5 separate regions of the Homo sapiens genome follow, and all the other regions are linked to region 2. The links are contacts of gene promoters, found by promoter capture Hi-C in human tissues and cell types (Jung and others, 2019). All regions are on one chromosome and are shown on one strand. Each heading gives the region's core, a stretch centred on a gene start or on the middle of the fragment in contact. The rest is flanking DNA. Distances are from core to core; before and after follow the strand shown. Region 1 overlaps LOC107986825 (a long non-coding RNA gene). Region 2 holds the start of DLX6 (distal-less homeobox 6). Region 3 has its middle 9.3 kb from the start of SEM1. Region 4 has its middle 120 kb from the start of SEM1. Region 5 overlaps LOC105375411 (a long non-coding RNA gene).

What was found. The method cuts DNA at HindIII sites, captures the fragments that hold promoters and counts their contacts. A contact is called where the count stands out against the background at its distance.
Region 1: a contact is called between a fragment that was not itself captured here and the fragment with the promoter of DLX6 in region 2, in 4 of the 25 tissues and cell types used here (aorta, mesenchymal stem cells, neural progenitor cells and 1 more).
Region 3: a contact is called between a fragment that was not itself captured here and the fragment with the promoter of DLX6 in region 2, in 3 of the 25 tissues and cell types used here (adrenal gland, liver and neural progenitor cells).
Region 4: a contact is called between a fragment that was not itself captured here and the fragment with the promoter of DLX6 in region 2, in 1 of the 25 tissues and cell types used here (mesendoderm cells).
Region 5: a fragment that was not itself captured here is called in contact with the fragment with the promoter of DLX6 in region 2 in 1 of the 25 tissues and cell types used here (thymus).

What each region holds. Positions count from the first base shown.
Region 1 is chr7:96,564,568-96,567,590 of GRCh38, forward strand. It overlaps LOC107986825 (a long non-coding RNA gene), which reads left to right. Exons shown (of 3, transcript XR_001745289.2): 1 at 1-279. It also overlaps a transcript of SEM1 not described here. Among named protein-coding and RNA genes, the nearest start is that of SEM1, 140 kb to the right of the region's middle. The HindIII fragment of the contact is 5,791 bases long and covers 1-3,023 here.
Region 2 is chr7:97,003,831-97,007,169 of GRCh38, forward strand. DLX6 (distal-less homeobox 6) reads left to right here and starts at 1,723. Exons shown (of 3, transcript NM_005222.4): 1 at 1,723-2,583. The coding sequence starts at 2,148. All of the region lies in intron 1 of DLX6-AS1 (DLX6 antisense RNA 1), which reads right to left. RefSeq lists an enhancer at 440-1,161 and a silencer at 2,474-2,573. The HindIII fragment of the contact is 17,411 bases long and covers 1-3,339 here.
Region 3 is chr7:96,717,654-96,720,611 of GRCh38, forward strand. No RefSeq gene overlaps it. Among named protein-coding and RNA genes, the nearest start is that of SEM1, 9.3 kb to the left of the region's middle. The HindIII fragment of the contact is 5,097 bases long and covers 1-2,958 here.
Region 4 is chr7:96,590,529-96,593,558 of GRCh38, forward strand. It overlaps a transcript of SEM1 not described here. Among named protein-coding and RNA genes, the nearest start is that of SEM1, 120 kb to the right of the region's middle. RefSeq lists enhancers at 765-1,672, 1,235-1,734. The HindIII fragment of the contact is 5,172 bases long and covers 1-3,030 here.
Region 5 is chr7:96,498,417-96,501,619 of GRCh38, forward strand. The region is part of intron 2 of LOC105375411 (a long non-coding RNA gene); the gene reads left to right. It also overlaps a transcript of SEM1 not described here. Among named protein-coding and RNA genes, the nearest start is that of SLC25A13, 180 kb to the left of the region's middle. The HindIII fragment of the contact is 4,858 bases long and covers 1-3,203 here.

The DNA.
Region 1 (3,023 bases), core at 461-2,960, 440 kb before region 2:
GGCTAGAAAGTGAATGTGATGGCTGGGGCTTCTTTCTTGGATCATTAAGTGAGAATGGATCATGCATAGAGGAACCAAAAGGTGGAAGGGACCCAATTTCCTAAGTACTTTATGTAACAGATCCACTATCTAGTCTTGGACACCCTACGTCTGGATTTTAACATGAGAGAAAAATCTTACACCCTTTTGATGGCTCTGCTATTGAGAGTTTTTAAAGTACTTAGGCGCTTATATATGTTATACAGAAAATATTGATAGAAAACCAAGAAAACTTATATGGTAAGTCTATTTTTCATCCTTATTGTGTTTGTATTTTCCAAATTTTACAAAAAGTTGCATTTAAACTTTAAATGTAATTAATATATGTTTGTTGACTTAAACTTTAGAAAACATAAGCAGAAGAAAAAAATTAGTGATATTCTCACTACTTACTTAAATTTTGATGTGCATTTTCACAGAGAAAGATAGATTACACCAAACAAAACCTAGTCCTCCATTCCTCTCCCTATAAACTCAGAGAACAATCCAGGAATCCTCATCAGAGCAGGAGGTCTTATCTGGTGGCCTTTAGGGTTTTAGTCAAACCATTATCCTAGAATATTATACCTTTTTAAAATCCCCTTTTCTACTCAAAGATAAATTTGGTTTTTAAAAAATGTCATTCCATATACTAAAAGTCCCCCAAATAGGCTAATTGTTTTGGATTTTGGTGGAGAAAGTGAATTTACAAGCAAAGAGTTAGGTACTTTGTGCTCTAAAACTTCATAACCTTTACTTGTAGGTTGGAAGATTAGAAGGTATTGCACTATAAGTTGTAATGGCCCGGAGGCAGCCATTATAGTCTAAAGGTCAATGCTCTGTGAGGCACAATTTTAGTAAGTGGATTCTGTGATTTGAAAAAAGAAGAAGAAAAAGAAGAAAAAAGTAAATTCTCTGGTTCAGCTTCAACAGAGGTGTTTTTTATGTTCCAGAGATAAATTCCTTGAGTCCCTTAGTTCACTGCAACTAAATAGAACAAAATATACTCTTACCCTCAATTCAGGTTTTGTAATTTAATAGTCTGAAGCTTGAGTAATGATTACACACACTTATTCACACACACAGCACTAATTTTACTGATGAAAAAAGGCTTTAAAAAGCTTTAAAAAGAAGACTTTTTAAAACCCTAGCTCTGTCAGAGATGCTTGTTAAAAACAAAGGTGTCACAAGTTGCTTCCTATCTCTATTAGTAAAATACAAAAATAGAAAACAGTGCAGAGAATAAAAATATCAACCTCTCAACAAGTGTTCCCACAGATCTTCTTCACAAGATAGCTCATGTACACATTATCCTTGTCATGTTGGATTCTCTGATAAAAGCTTAGAAAGAATAATGCAAATTAATGTCAACAATATACTTTTTGTCCAAATCATATAGCACTTTTGTCCAAATCATATAGCACTTTAGTCCAAATCATACAGTCCTAGGCTTTAATGAAACATCTGCAGTTTGTTGTGTGACATTAATTAATCTATTTAATTTTTCTGGCTTCAATTTATATTTTAAAATATTATTTTATTCTATAAAAGTGATACACACATAGTTTAAAAAGTTAAACATACAGTATAATATGCCGTAAAAAGTACATGCTCATCTCATCCTTGTTCCCTGGTTACCTTACAGAGAGGCAAATACTGTTAACATCTGAGATTATTCACCCTGGAGAGATAATGTGCAAATACAATCATACAGGCATGTTTTAGTATGTCAATCTGATAGGTTTAAATTACATATTATGTTATTTTAATAAACATTTATTTAATGGTTGACAAGGCTGAAAATATCTTCATTTCATTTAATTGAACTTTAATTCATTATAAGTTGTTTGAACTTATTTTTCTATAAACTGCCTGCTCATGTCATCCTCCCATTTCCTTACTGGTTTTAAAATATTTTTTCTAATTGATTCATAAGAACTCTTCATATAATAAGAAAGATAGCCCTTTATTATATATAGCATATTACAAATATTCTTCCTGCTTTGTCAATGCCATTGAATTTATAGTATTCTATTGCTATGCAGACAATGTTTAATTTTTATGTAGGCAAATTTATCACCTTTTATGGCTTCTAAGCTTTGTGCCATGCTTAGAAAGGCTTCTCTCATTACAAGATTAATTTTTAAATTCTCACATAATTTCTTTCAGTACTTTTAGAATTTCCTTTTGTAGTGATTAAATCTCTGATATTTGATTTCATCTTGGTATAAATCCATCTGAAGTAAGAATTAATTCATTATTTTTCCAGAAGACTAGGCAATTGTTCATGACTAGTTATTAAGTAAATTTGTTTGGGCATGGTTTTGAAATACTTCTTTGATAACAAGCCACATTACCATGAGGATTTTGGTATACATCTCAACTCTTCCTTTGGTCTATTGTGTTTTGTTTCTATGTGCCAGTAAAAGTGTGTTTTAATTAATATAGCATTTAGTACCTTGTAGAACTAATGTCACGTCAGAAATTTATGTGTTTCTAAATTGCTCCCTACTCTAAAAATTATCTGTGAAGTAATTTCATTGGAATAAAATTAATGTATAGGTAAATACAGAGAGATTTGCTGCCTTCAAAATATTGAGTCTTCTTATCCAATAAAAGGTATATCATTATATTTCTTCAATTCTTGTTTTATCCTTCATTCTTTTAAAGTCCCTTTATATATGTCTTGAACATTTCTTAAATTTACTCGTATTACATTTTATCATTTTGTTCCTATGACAAATACTACCTTTATCCCTTTATATTTTAATGTAACTTTCACTTATACATAGGAAAATAATTGGTTTGTTTGCATTAATGTTATTTTATTGTTTGTGGTGTTTTCCAGCTGTAAAATTTAATCATATATGTAAATAATGATAATTCTGTGTCATCTCTTCAAACCTTTGTATTTTTTTTCCTTTCCAATTCCACATTTATAACCTCTAAAGCAATGAGAAGTAATCATTGTAATGGTGGACATCATTGTCTTTCTCCTGTTGAAA
Region 2 (3,339 bases), core at 473-2,972:
GTAGTTTTCCCAAAGGGAGACACTGTCTCCTTCCCGCAACCTCCAGACACTGCAGTACAGGGTTGTTAGATATTAGATAGTACGTTTCTCCGTGTGGGCAAAGGCTCGCGGCTTAGGTCTCTAAGCAGATCGAAAGTCGGGGTCCAGACCGAGAGGATCTTCAGGTCTCGTCCACCCAATCTCAAGCCTCTGGAAGGGCGGGCTGCCGGCGACCTCCTCCAGTCCCGGGACCCGGAACCCGGGACCCTGGACGCCGGTGCGGGCGGGCCTGCCCTCCTCTGTGCCTGGCCCCCAGTCTGGCCCTCCTACCTGTTGACCAGGCCTGAACCACGCACCGGGGCTCCGCTGTCTCTGCTTGGCTGCCTTAACCTGCGTGGGTCTGGAGACCGGAGGGAGAAAGGCTAGATCCGCAGCCTTGGGCTGCTCCGAACTTAATGTCTTTCCCCAGTCCATCTTTGAAAGAGAAGTGGTTCTACCACCTGGATGTGCGGATATAAATCCCCTTGCAAATAATAAATGGATTAATAATAACAAGGTATGAAGTTCTTTTTATAGAAAAAAAGGAGAGAATTGAAACTAAATGCGGCAGTTAGACAACCATTTTGATAAGAGGATAATTGAGGCGACACTGGTGTATAATTAGAGGATAATTTATGCTATATCCACTTTTATTCCACCTCCCAAAATAAACCCAGTCCATAATCATTACAGGCAAATTGTTCTGAATTTTATAGCAGCAATTTGAACAAAGTACTGCAGTTAATCATGGGAGATTTTTGTGTATTCCTGATTAGAACTCTAATTGCCTCCTTCCAGAAAGTAAAAATAACTGTAAAACGACTCTATTTTTATCATTAACAATGTTGACAATAAAATAAAATCAATTGGAATTGTAATCGAGAGACAAATTTAGGACGAAGGCACTTTTACTTGGGTAGTTTATATTGTAATCAAGATTTGCCAAACCACTAACCGCATGTATCATTTGCATATATTTGAAAGCATTACAGTAGCTTCTGTTTTCAATAGGAAAAAATGCATTACTGTCAGTCCTCCAACGATTCGTTTTCAGAACACGCTGCTGCGTTCTGAAAAGAAAAAAAAGACGCCCCCCCCCCCCACAACCTTTTGTACAATATATAAGAAATACGGCCTGAAACGGCAGGGACCGAGCCAGAACAGGGTCTGATTTTTCTTTTTCTGTACCACCCCCCAGTGGGGTGGAGCCCAGGTGTGAGGGTTCGTCTTCCTTCTGTGGTTTCAATAAAATACGTCTAGAAAAATCCACGGTGACAAGGAGCTCCCACAAGAGTGTAGTAGGACCAGAGTGGCAGGGACGTCAAGAAAGGGGGGCCTGGATTTAATGCGGGGGTGGGGTCACTGCTTCTAAGCACAGGCAACCTACAAGGGTGCAAAGGGATTGAAAGAGAGCAGCCCCCAGTTGGCTGTTTCAAGGCTGAGATATTGGCAACTGGGGCTCCGGGATTTGGGGCACGAGCTGCGGCGGGAAGCATCGGCGGCCGGCCGGGCAGAGGCGCCTCCCTCCCCAACGGCCCCGGGCGCCACACAGCGCGGCCCCCGGCTGCAGCTCCGGCTGGGATTGGAACTGCGGAAGGTAGGCGAAGAACTCTGCAAGTCGCGCACACGCCAGTAGAAGCCGTGCGCCTGTGACGTCAGGGGGCGACTGACCAATGGGGAGGCACTGCCCTTTGGAGACAAACCATTCGACTCGTGGCGTCTGCATCAAGTCTGAAAGCAGACGCGCAACTTTCGCAGAATCCACCTTAAAATCTCTGCCTTAAACTGCACCAGCCCCCAAAAAATCCAAGGGGGGAAAGCAGGCGGGGGGAGAGCAGATTCCCCCCTCCCCCTCTCCTCTCCCATCCCTCCTCCTTCCTCCTCCCTTTGAGTTAACAAGGCCCCGCTCACTATATCTCTTTATATTAAATATATATATATATTAGAGAAGAGCGAGGGAGAGGGAGAACCACCTCCACCCCCCTCTTTAAATTCTTTTTTTTTTTTTTTTTTTTTTTTGCAAGGATCCAAAGAGCTAAGGTGGCTGCAGAGGGGAGAGCGGCGCGAGCCAAGTGGGGGAGGGTGGAGGAAACCCGGGAGAAGGCTTTCTCCAGCCCCCAAAGTTTTTGATGATGACCATGACTACGATGGCTGACGGCTTGGAAGGCCAGGACTCGTCCAAATCCGCCTTCATGGAGTTCGGGCAGCAGCAGCAGCAGCAGCAGCAACAGCAGCAGCAGCAGCAGCAGCAACAGCAACAGCCGCCGCCGCCGCCGCCGCCGCCGCCGCAGCCGCACTCGCAGCAGAGCTCCCCGGCCATGGCAGGCGCGCACTACCCTCTGCACTGCCTGCACTCGGCGGCGGCGGCGGCAGCGGCCGGCTCGCACCACCACCACCACCACCAGCACCACCACCACGGCTCGCCCTACGCGTCGGGCGGAGGGAACTCCTACAACCACCGCTCGCTCGCCGCCTACCCCTACATGAGCCACTCGCAGCACAGCCCTTACCTCCAGTCCTACCACAACAGCAGCGCAGCCGCCCAGACGCGAGGGGACGACACAGGTGAGAGGCCGCTGGGGCAGCTCGCTTCTCCCGCCTCCCGACTGCCCCCTACCCCGCCCGCCCGCTCACTTCCTCGACGCCCGGGCCTCCGCCGGCCCCCTCCCCCAGGCGGCCCCGCGCGCCCTTGGCCGGGCCCCGTGCGCGCCCGCTCGCCTGGCGCCTGCCTGCCGGCCTCTCCCAGCCGGGCCCCTTCCCGCCGCCGCGGACCCTCAGCTTCCGACGCGCAGTTCGGGCTGAGTCCCGGGCCCGGCGCAGGCTTCGTTCGACGAGTTAGTCCACACTGCGCTCTCCAGCCTCCTGGGTCTGTGCGCCCTTTTCCTTGCTCCTTCCCTCCAGGCTGTAACCCACGTTTGACCCGGCTGGGGACATTTCTGGGCCGGAACTGGGGAGCGTGTTTTGCTTCCCAGCCCACGCTGGGCAGGCAGTGGCCTACTTTGCGTGGGGCGCCCCGTGCTCCTCAGTGACTCGGAGGGAAGCTGGCCTGGCTTTCGCTCTGGTTAAACTAGTAACAGTCAGGCTCTTTCCAGTGGGCTTTAAAGTGTCCCTCACCTTCATCCCTGACCGGGCCCCCTATCTAGCTTTTCGCTACAGTGTTGGCTGCTCCTTTGTTCGTGGAGGGGAAGCAAAGAACCTCGGGCTGATGGTTCTCAGCACCCGAGGGGGACAAAGTTGCCGTGAGAGGCGCAGCCTGCTCGTGGGCTGGTCTGAGCTGTTGGTTGTGTTTTGTTTGAGGATTTGGTCCTCCTCAGGAGAGTC
Region 3 (2,958 bases), core at 258-2,757, 290 kb before region 2:
AGGAGCTTAGCTCTTCTTGGAAGGTGTATATATACCTGGGAACAACTCACACTCACATCTTTATTAGTATTATGAGTACTTTGTACCCAGTGATTGATTCTGGACATTGGGAAGAATTACAATCCCAAATAGACGGAGCTTTTTTGGCTCTTTTGTCATAACAAAATGCCTGGACAAATGAAAATATGAAAAATTATCATTGTAAGCTCCCTGAAATATTTAGATCTCATTGTAGAACAATTACTAATGAATAAAGATACAGTTATTGAAAATGTAAATGCTAATAATGAGAAGTACTTAATCTACCACAACATAAGAGCCCAGCCCAAAAAGACCCTATTTTGGACCAAACTACCTGTTCAAAAATCGGTATTTGCATGCCCAAGACTTGTTTGAAAAGGCGATTATGGTCTCACAGGTAAATCATAAGAATTTTTAAAATTTTGTAAATGCTGTATTTATATGACAGACAGGAACCACTCTGAAGGAATCATTATGGTTTGGGAAATGATATGCAATTTCAAAATCATCTAAATCATTTCAATTGCCTGTATTTACATTTATATAATGGGTATTTATAATGGTGATTATTTTAGAACTTACCTTGTTTTCCAGGATCTCACATTGGTTTCTATGGGAACGAGAATGGCTCTGAAGAGGAGCATTTTAAGAACTCTTTTCACATTCAGTGACTGCTAACTGAACTGTAAATTCTGTTTGTCTGTTAACGGTTTTTAACATTTAGATTTTAACACAGAAATAGAAGTTGGGCATTCTAGCCTCATAAATCATTTTAAATAATAAAAACTATTTTTATGAAACATCTGGCACATTTGAAACATTTGAAAAACAAAATAACTAGCTTTAGGAGCTAATAATCTGTTCACTTTATTAAATTCATTAATGATTAATCCACATTGGCCATGTGCTTGCTCTTAGAAAATTGTGTAAAGAAGAACTTCATCAGAAATATATTGTTTTAATACACTTTCTCTGCTATTTATACATATGTGTGTGTGTGTATATATATATATATGTTTTCTTAGTTGTATAAAATCCCTTAAAGTAGTATAAAATGTTCTGCATTTAAAGTTTCTTCTCTGCTAATACCTCACTCATCCTGTGCTATTATTTGCCCTGGTATCATGTTGTACCTTGACCATGAGTTGGTACTTTATCCATGTTCTTATACCAGTTGGAACTTATTTTTACTATTTTTTGAAACAAGCTCATAAGTCTTTGAATTTCAATTTTTCTTTTTCTTGGAAGAAATTTTTAGATCATAAAAAGCCCAATGTGTAACTTATGGATTACGTTTGTTCAGTTTAAAACTGTATTTAATATTTCCTCACATTTCATGTTTTCCAATTAATTTTATTTTTTTTTAATTCCCTGGAAAAATGAAATTTCAATATATCATTATTTAATTCCTTCTCAACATAATTAAAACCCACTAAAAATAAGAGAAGCCTATTCCAGAAAAGAGTGCTAAAACTCAAAATTTTTCTTGTACCCAAACTATAAAAGATGCTAGCTGAAAGCATATGCATCCCATAACCAACTTATGTAATAGCTACTCCAGTTATTTCTGATATACGATCTATGTCTTAAATCCGAAGAGTAAAGGTTGGTGGCAGACTGCCAGGTGGGGTAGAATTAGCACTGGGTGATTTTGCCTTCCTTTTGATTGGAATGTGTTTGCTTGCTGTCAGCCTATCCCTGACGGTAGGCTGCCAGAGACTAGTGTCAGTTTGAGAAGTGGAGCTGCTAGCATCGCTGTGACTAAGGGATCATTCTGTAACTCAGGGGTCTGGTGTAAGCTCCATGGAATTAATTTTTTCTTCTTTCTTAAAAGTATTTTTCATTCAGATTTGATTTTATGATATGAATTAAGGATTGCCACACTTTGAAAAAAGGTGACGATAAATAAATGAGAAATATGTAATCAAATGTTTTGAGAGGAATGATTAATTGATTTGCTATTCTATTTTTTTAAAGTTGATTTTGAATTGAAGTACAAAAATTGAAAAGTAAAATCAAGTCTAATGTTAATCATTAGAAGAGAAAGAGTTATCTTGAAAAGTATCTGTCAGGCCTCTGAGCCTATATCTGAATCTGAAGGTGAGGCATATAATTGTCTAGCACAGAGCTACTCAAAGTGGGGTCCCTGGACCAGCGCCTATAAAAGACAACTATAGAAAGTGAGCATAAACATGTAGAAACTCTTAGAGCAGTTTGACACTGCCACTTCATCCAACCCTGTGATTTCGTATTTTATAAAAATCAGCCCATGGCATTTTTGAATTTTAAAAATTTGCCCTTTACTACAAATGGAGATGGATTGATTTAGCATAAATTACTGTAAGCAGAAAAGAGTGTCATTTGAACTTCATATATTGAGAATAATTTATCCTGTGTGATTCTGTCTGAAAGCTGGGAAGTGAGGTGTTTTTCTCTCTGAAAAATCTCTTTCTAGCCCTAGAATAGCATATTTATATTCATAAGATTACAGCAAAGGAGGCTGAAGCTGATGTTGTGCTCTCCTTTTGCAGATATAAAAACAAAAGTACAAAGGGCTTAAGTGAGATGTCTGATATTACACAATTAACATCAGAATTTAAAATCAAGTTAAGTAAACAGCATTGCACAGAACTTATTTAATATTCTGATGAGTAAAATGAAAACACCCTAGGTTGATTATGGCATCAAATTGGATATATTTGTAATTATATATGGCAGATGTCAGTGCTTTGTCTTAAGGTTTCTGATGGAAAAGCATTGTGATAGTCGTTCAATGGGTGAACAGTGAAACTATACATACTGCAAACCAAGGTGATGAGTTGGAAGGAATTCAATAACCAAAACCAAAATTAAACAAAGAGAATGAAGAAAGATTAAGGTAGGAACACATAGTTTGGTTAAAGAACTAATAGAGCAGAAATGTAAGTCCACAACTCT
Region 4 (3,030 bases), core at 48-2,547, 410 kb before region 2:
GGTCTGAAACTGCAGGATTCTTTAGCCATTTGTAATTGGGTCATGAAAGATAGAATTCTTGAAAACAAAGACATTGCTTAGGATGTAGTAATTGATAAAAGTTTAGCAGCTTCATTCTAATTTAAATTAGAGTGCCTGAGAAAACTAGCAACATAATTTGGCAAGATCTAAGGCAATTACTTAAAAAGAGGAGCAGGTGTAATTGAGCATGCAGTCTTGTCATCTTGTCATTCCAAGAGCAGGTAGATTCGCCATTGAGGAAGTGTGGCTATGCCAAAATCATTTGTAGAAACATAATTTTATGTGTGTGCTCTGTGGAGGAAGAAGATTGTCAGAGGGAGGGTCGGGGTTACAAACATAGGAATGTGGTTCCCTAGGTGAATGCATATGAAAAAGGACCCCAAGCCAGTGGTGAAAAGTAACACTTTTCTTGATGAAACTATCTAAAGTAAACGAATACCAGGACCAAGATTTAAAAGGCAGAAGAAACATTACTTGTTTAGAGAAGTGATCAAGATTTTTAAAAATAGATGTAATATACTTGGCAATTTAATTGTAATGGCTTGTCAGGTGTTCCTGTTAAGTCTACAATTTCCCCCTTTTGTTTTTCATGGCTTTTAATCTTAATTTTCTCTAACTACACAAGATTCACAAAATTAAGCTGTTTGGTAGGACTGCAGTATTTATTTTGTTTGATTTCCTTTTTTGATCATTTCTTTACACGAACAGCAAATCTCTTCAGCAACACCTGAAAAGATTTACCTACTCTTCATAATAAAAGACTTTCGGTTAACTTCTGAGGTTTTAAAACAACGAACTGTCAACCACCAGAATGGCGAACTCTGAACCTCAAGCAAACTGAAGAGAAAGTTAGCACATCTGCCTCCCTCTAACAGAGTTAAAAACACTTCCCTTGAATTAATATATTCATTATATATTTCCAAGGAGAGTCAAATGACAGGTTCTACAAAGGTTGCCTTAACTGGAGTACTTTAAAAAGTTACTTAGCAACAATATAGCTAGCTCTACACATGCACTCCATATAAAACTGATGATTTCATCAGATGGCTTCTACCCAGAAATTCAGACATTAGCATCAGTTTGGGTCAACACTTTGCTTACCCCTGAATAACCTGAGTCCTTAAACAATTTATAGTTCCTTACATGGGGTCTTTGTTGGGGCCTTTCCTGAACATAGAGGGCTATTCCTTTTTCCTTCAAATGTATTCTAATTCAAATCCCTTCTTCACTGAAATGGCATGACACAAACCTCCAGGCAATGGAGTTTTTTTTTTTTTTCCTTTCAAAACAACAGACATTTGCTAAATTTCAGAGAAGCACCTGTATTAATTGTATTTCCTGCTCATGTGTTGCTTTTGTTTACAATAAAAGAATTCATCTCAGGTGAGTTAACCTTGCTTTTTAGAGAGGGCACCTGCAGTTATCTTGGTGAGTATTGTAAATCAAAACATGTTGAGCCTTTAAAGAGGGAAATAAAGAGGTGCTGACAAGAGGGGATGCCAGTAGGATTAAGCGACTTTCTCACCACTGGTATTATCAGGACAGAGAACAACTGAGTCACATTAAATTACAGGGGGGAGAAAGAGTCCCAGAAATTCCACAGATGGGATGACTGGCTTACCTAAGACGCCAGTCAATGGGAGGTTGACTGGCGTCTTAGGTAAGCCCGGGAAGAGGAGGGGTCTGTGAGGAGGTATGAAAAGACAACTCCCTCCTTAGCCTCGGGCTTCGATAATTGACCAAGATTTTTCAGCTTGTGATTTGATCCAGCCAAACCCTGTTAGAGGCACTTGCCCCCAACTGAGACCAAGACTGAAGTGAATAAGAATTAGGTGAGTCACTTGTATGTACAATACGTGCATTCACATCTATTAGGCTAAATGACACATCGCTCACTTTAAGCACAGGCAGCTGGAGATTGTCATATTCTGAAAATGACAACTGTTATTTATTTATTGAGAATATTTATACAGGTTCTTCCTGGGCACGGAGAATGCATTTTTCAGCAGCACCATGACACCGGCTGTCACGTGCTGTCTTCCGTTGGAGAACGGAACACAGAAAACCATTAGCACAAGCAGAGACAAAGCACACGTATTCGGGGCAGCAATCTGTAGGAGCAGAGATTTAGAAGGTTGAAGGTGGCAGGTTTTTAAGTATGGCCTAAGTCATTTTCTTAACAGGGTTTCAAGCTCCTCTGAGGAGAAAAGGATTGTTTTTCCACACAGCATGATTTCGGTAACTGCCAGAGGACCAGTTTTGAGGCATCGATTAATTTGGTCGAAGGGTTCATATTATACAACTCAGGGGGCATGTTTGTTAGCTGGTAAAGAAGGAACGGAGAAAGTTTAGGACCAAAAGCAACCCTTCTTGTCTGTTTTCCACATATTACCGTCCTTGAAGCTCTAGAGAAGGCTCTTCCCTCCTCTCTGCTGTAATTCTCCCATATTAAAAAAAAAAAAAAAAAAAAAGGCACACTTTCTTAAAACGTCATTTCTCCAAGTAGGGGCCCCCATTCAAATTGTCCATTCCTGGGCCACATGATAGATTTACTGAATCTGAATATCTGCGAGAGACCTTGGAATGTGCATTTTAAGAAGTTTCCTCAATGTTTCTTTTGCATTTTCTTCCAAAGATACAGTAAGGTTATGTAAAAGAGTGCATTCTGAGCTTCCCAGATTCTAAGTGCTGGTTGATATTGCGTTCACAACAACACATATTGCTTGATGGCAACTCAAATCACTGCAGAATATCTACACATACCCTACATTTCTTAGGGGGTACTATGTTTTCTTGACTATACATGTAAGTGTGAATGACTAAATATAACCTTTTCCAGAGAATACTTTACATATACATACCTCCTAGAAAAATTCAATTAAACATAAAACATTTCTCTTACAGCCACCTGGAACTAATTTTTTGGTATGTTGGCCTGTTCCCCAATCAGATGAAATTTGCAGAACCCAGTGTGCCGTATGTGAAGTTGACCTCCCTCCTCTTGCTATA
Region 5 (3,203 bases), core at 563-3,062, 510 kb before region 2:
GGTATAGATTTGCTAGAGATCAGATAGGTTTTTCTGAGAGTCTTATAAGGTTTGAGATGGAGAATGATTGAACTTATTTCTATTCTGCTGTTTTCTCAGGAAGATACGACAGAGATGAATTGAGGGAAACTTGCAACTTAATGGTAGAACAATACACCATAAGATTGTTCAGAGCTTTTTTCTTGCTGTTAACGTATTCTGCAACTGATACTTCAAGTGTGCCAATAATAATAAGAAGAATATAATATTAGCTAAAGTTTGTCAAATGATTGTTGTGTGTCCTGCTCTTCTAACATACATGTGTTACCACATTTAATTCTTTGAGGTAGCTTCTATTCTTATTTATAGCGTCGAGGAGCAGGGAGATGTTACCTGACTTGTCCAAGTAACCCTGTAACCTTGAGAAGGTTACACAAAGGTCATACAAAGTATTTCTTGTAGAGAATCATTCTTGAAAATGAGTTTAATAATAGTTTCTGTCCCATTATAACTTTTCTGTACAAGACATTTATTTTAATAGGTTTTCTATAAAATCATTTTATATAAAGATTATTTAATAGACTAGCTTTAACTATAATAGACACTATCCAACTGATAAAGAATGAAGCACATAGATTTTTCAAAAACCAAAATGTCTTAATACTCTGGTGTGAATACATCAATGAAGTAATCATATTTGTTCTCAAGAGTACCTTAACTTAAATAATGGGTTTATCCTGAGATTAAAATATTTCAGCTTCACAATTTTTGAAGTCCATAGTTATGTCAAGAAATTTCTGTTCCTGAATAATGCCTACATAACTAATTCAGCCTAATGTCCTTATACTAAGACTATTAGGCAACAACAGTAATTTGCCACTTTTTCATTCTCTGCAAGTAGGATAGAAAGTCCACTTGAGTGACCATTTCAGGTCACAGAATAAGTCATTAATAAAATTGAGACTGAGACTCTCATAAGTAGATTCTTGCCGTAATACTCCATCCCTTTATAAGAGCTACTTTTCACTCACAGAAAGTGAGTAGCCCTGTGCCGGGTGGCAGTTGGCCGAATGTGACTCACAGCGGGCAGGAGGGAACTGCATGAGGGTTCCTTATGTGTCTTGAACAAAGCGAGTCAATTTTATTTCAACGAGCATTTACTAAATGTGATGCTGTGCACATTCTAAGTTAAAGATGGAACTACTAAGTCCTGATGCTATCCTCATTGTCTAAGCCAGGCATGTACTTAACAAATAAACAAGTCAGTTGTGCCTATTTTTGTTCCAACTCCACCACAGAAAATCAGTCACATGAGTAGTCACTAGGCATAGAGTGGAAAAACAAACATTTGATCGGATTGTGGCAGTCACTTGTAGGCTAGATGCATTGCTGTTGAGTATATCAGGAAACAATTCCTACAATTTTGATTTCATGGGCTAGAAAAACGTTTTTTGTTTTGTTTTAAATTGGAGACCAACATAGATCAAGTAGAATAAAAATCAAAGAACAAAACCACCATCAAATATCACCATCAACACATATTTTGTTTAACATCAAATAATTAGTAAGGGTATAATTTTTTGACCTTATCAGAATAAAGGATAGTTACTTAAATTGAATAGATTTAGTTTTGTGAAAGAAAATTCATTTAATTTTCCCTGTTCTTCTCATTTTTACATGAACCATGAAAAACCTTGTCAGTCTGGCACCCCTTTGCAAATAGGAGTTTAAGAACCCTTTCCATAGATACATTTTAGTCTCCATGATACAAACAACACTGGACTAAAAAGAGAGAGGTGAAGCCACACACCCAGGGCAGTCTTGAGAATACAGTGTCAGCAAAGGGGACACTGGCCTGCTGATCAGGCCTTAGTCTTTCTTGGTGGCCGCATCGAAGGCAGGTGGCTCTCTGGGCCAAGTGGGTCCTCTTTGGATATGAAGAACAGCAACCTGTGAAAATGCTGTGATTTCACTACTTACTACCTGTGTTTTTTTATGAGTTCAAACGTTAAGGAAATATGTCTCACGAATGTAACTACCAAATAATCAAGTCTATATGAACTTCACTCAGGCCAGTCGTCATACATTTTTTGGATCACAAACTACTTTGAGAATCAGATGAAAGCTATGAACTTTCCTCCCAGAAAACTGCACATATGTGTCCACCTAAGAATATTTTGTGCATATTCCAGGGGGACCTCTGAACTCCGTAAATGGATTCCAGTTTAGAGATCTCAGCTTTAATGCATGAAGGGATTTGAGGTCTTCACCACTGCTATTCTAACTTATCTGTGCTTCCTTATACTGCTTTAGTTTCTACTTAATTCTCAAAAAGCACTTCATGATTATCTTTGCTGCAGCTTCTTCTCGTATCCTGTAGCACATGTTCCTGGAGAGGAGGTTAGATTTTCATCTTGGCTCCTGGATTTCACTCCTTCCAGGTCCCTGCCAGGCCTGGACTACATTTGGCTGTGGTCCTGAAAACCTTTCTAGCTCTTACCAACTTTCCTTCAAAATCTGGATCTTGTTCTTACTCCTTTTGCCACAGATTTATACCTAGCTACAACTGGATTTTGTGAAAAAAGTCTGCCTCTTATTATGAAATCCCAAAGAACCAAGATGTTACTGCCTAAAGACTATTGTGGTGCTCCTGCCATGAGATCAGACTTCTTCAATATCGTGACAAGTTGGAATCAGACCTAAGGTCACTGTTAACCCTCTGCACGTTCTAAGTAATGGCCAAGATTCTCAGTTAGTGGGTAGAGCTCATCTGTCCCCTCTAGTCCTGGTTTACTCTTTTCTCCATCCTGCCTTGCCACAGAAGTCTCAGTAGGTCTGAAAGCTACGATGACATCCAGAGTTGATGTTAAGTCCACTTCTCTATATGGAAATAAATGGTCAAGGCAGGTTTTAAAATGTTTTCTCACTGACCTTTAGTAATATTAACTCCTACTTAGCAGGGAGTGGATCTGAGCAACATATAATTGGCTAGCCTTCTTCAACTCTCTGATTTAGGGCATCTTAGTAGTATATAGACCTTTCACACACACACAAAAAAACCCAATCTTTTTTGATTAATCATTAACTTGAGGCTAATGAAGATTGTTCCACAAAGTTATTGAATTCAATGATGATAAGTACATGCCTTAATGTTAGGAAAGACTAAAAACCATCCAAATGTGGTGGACTTCAACCTGTCATTGAGCACACTGAACTATGTTAAC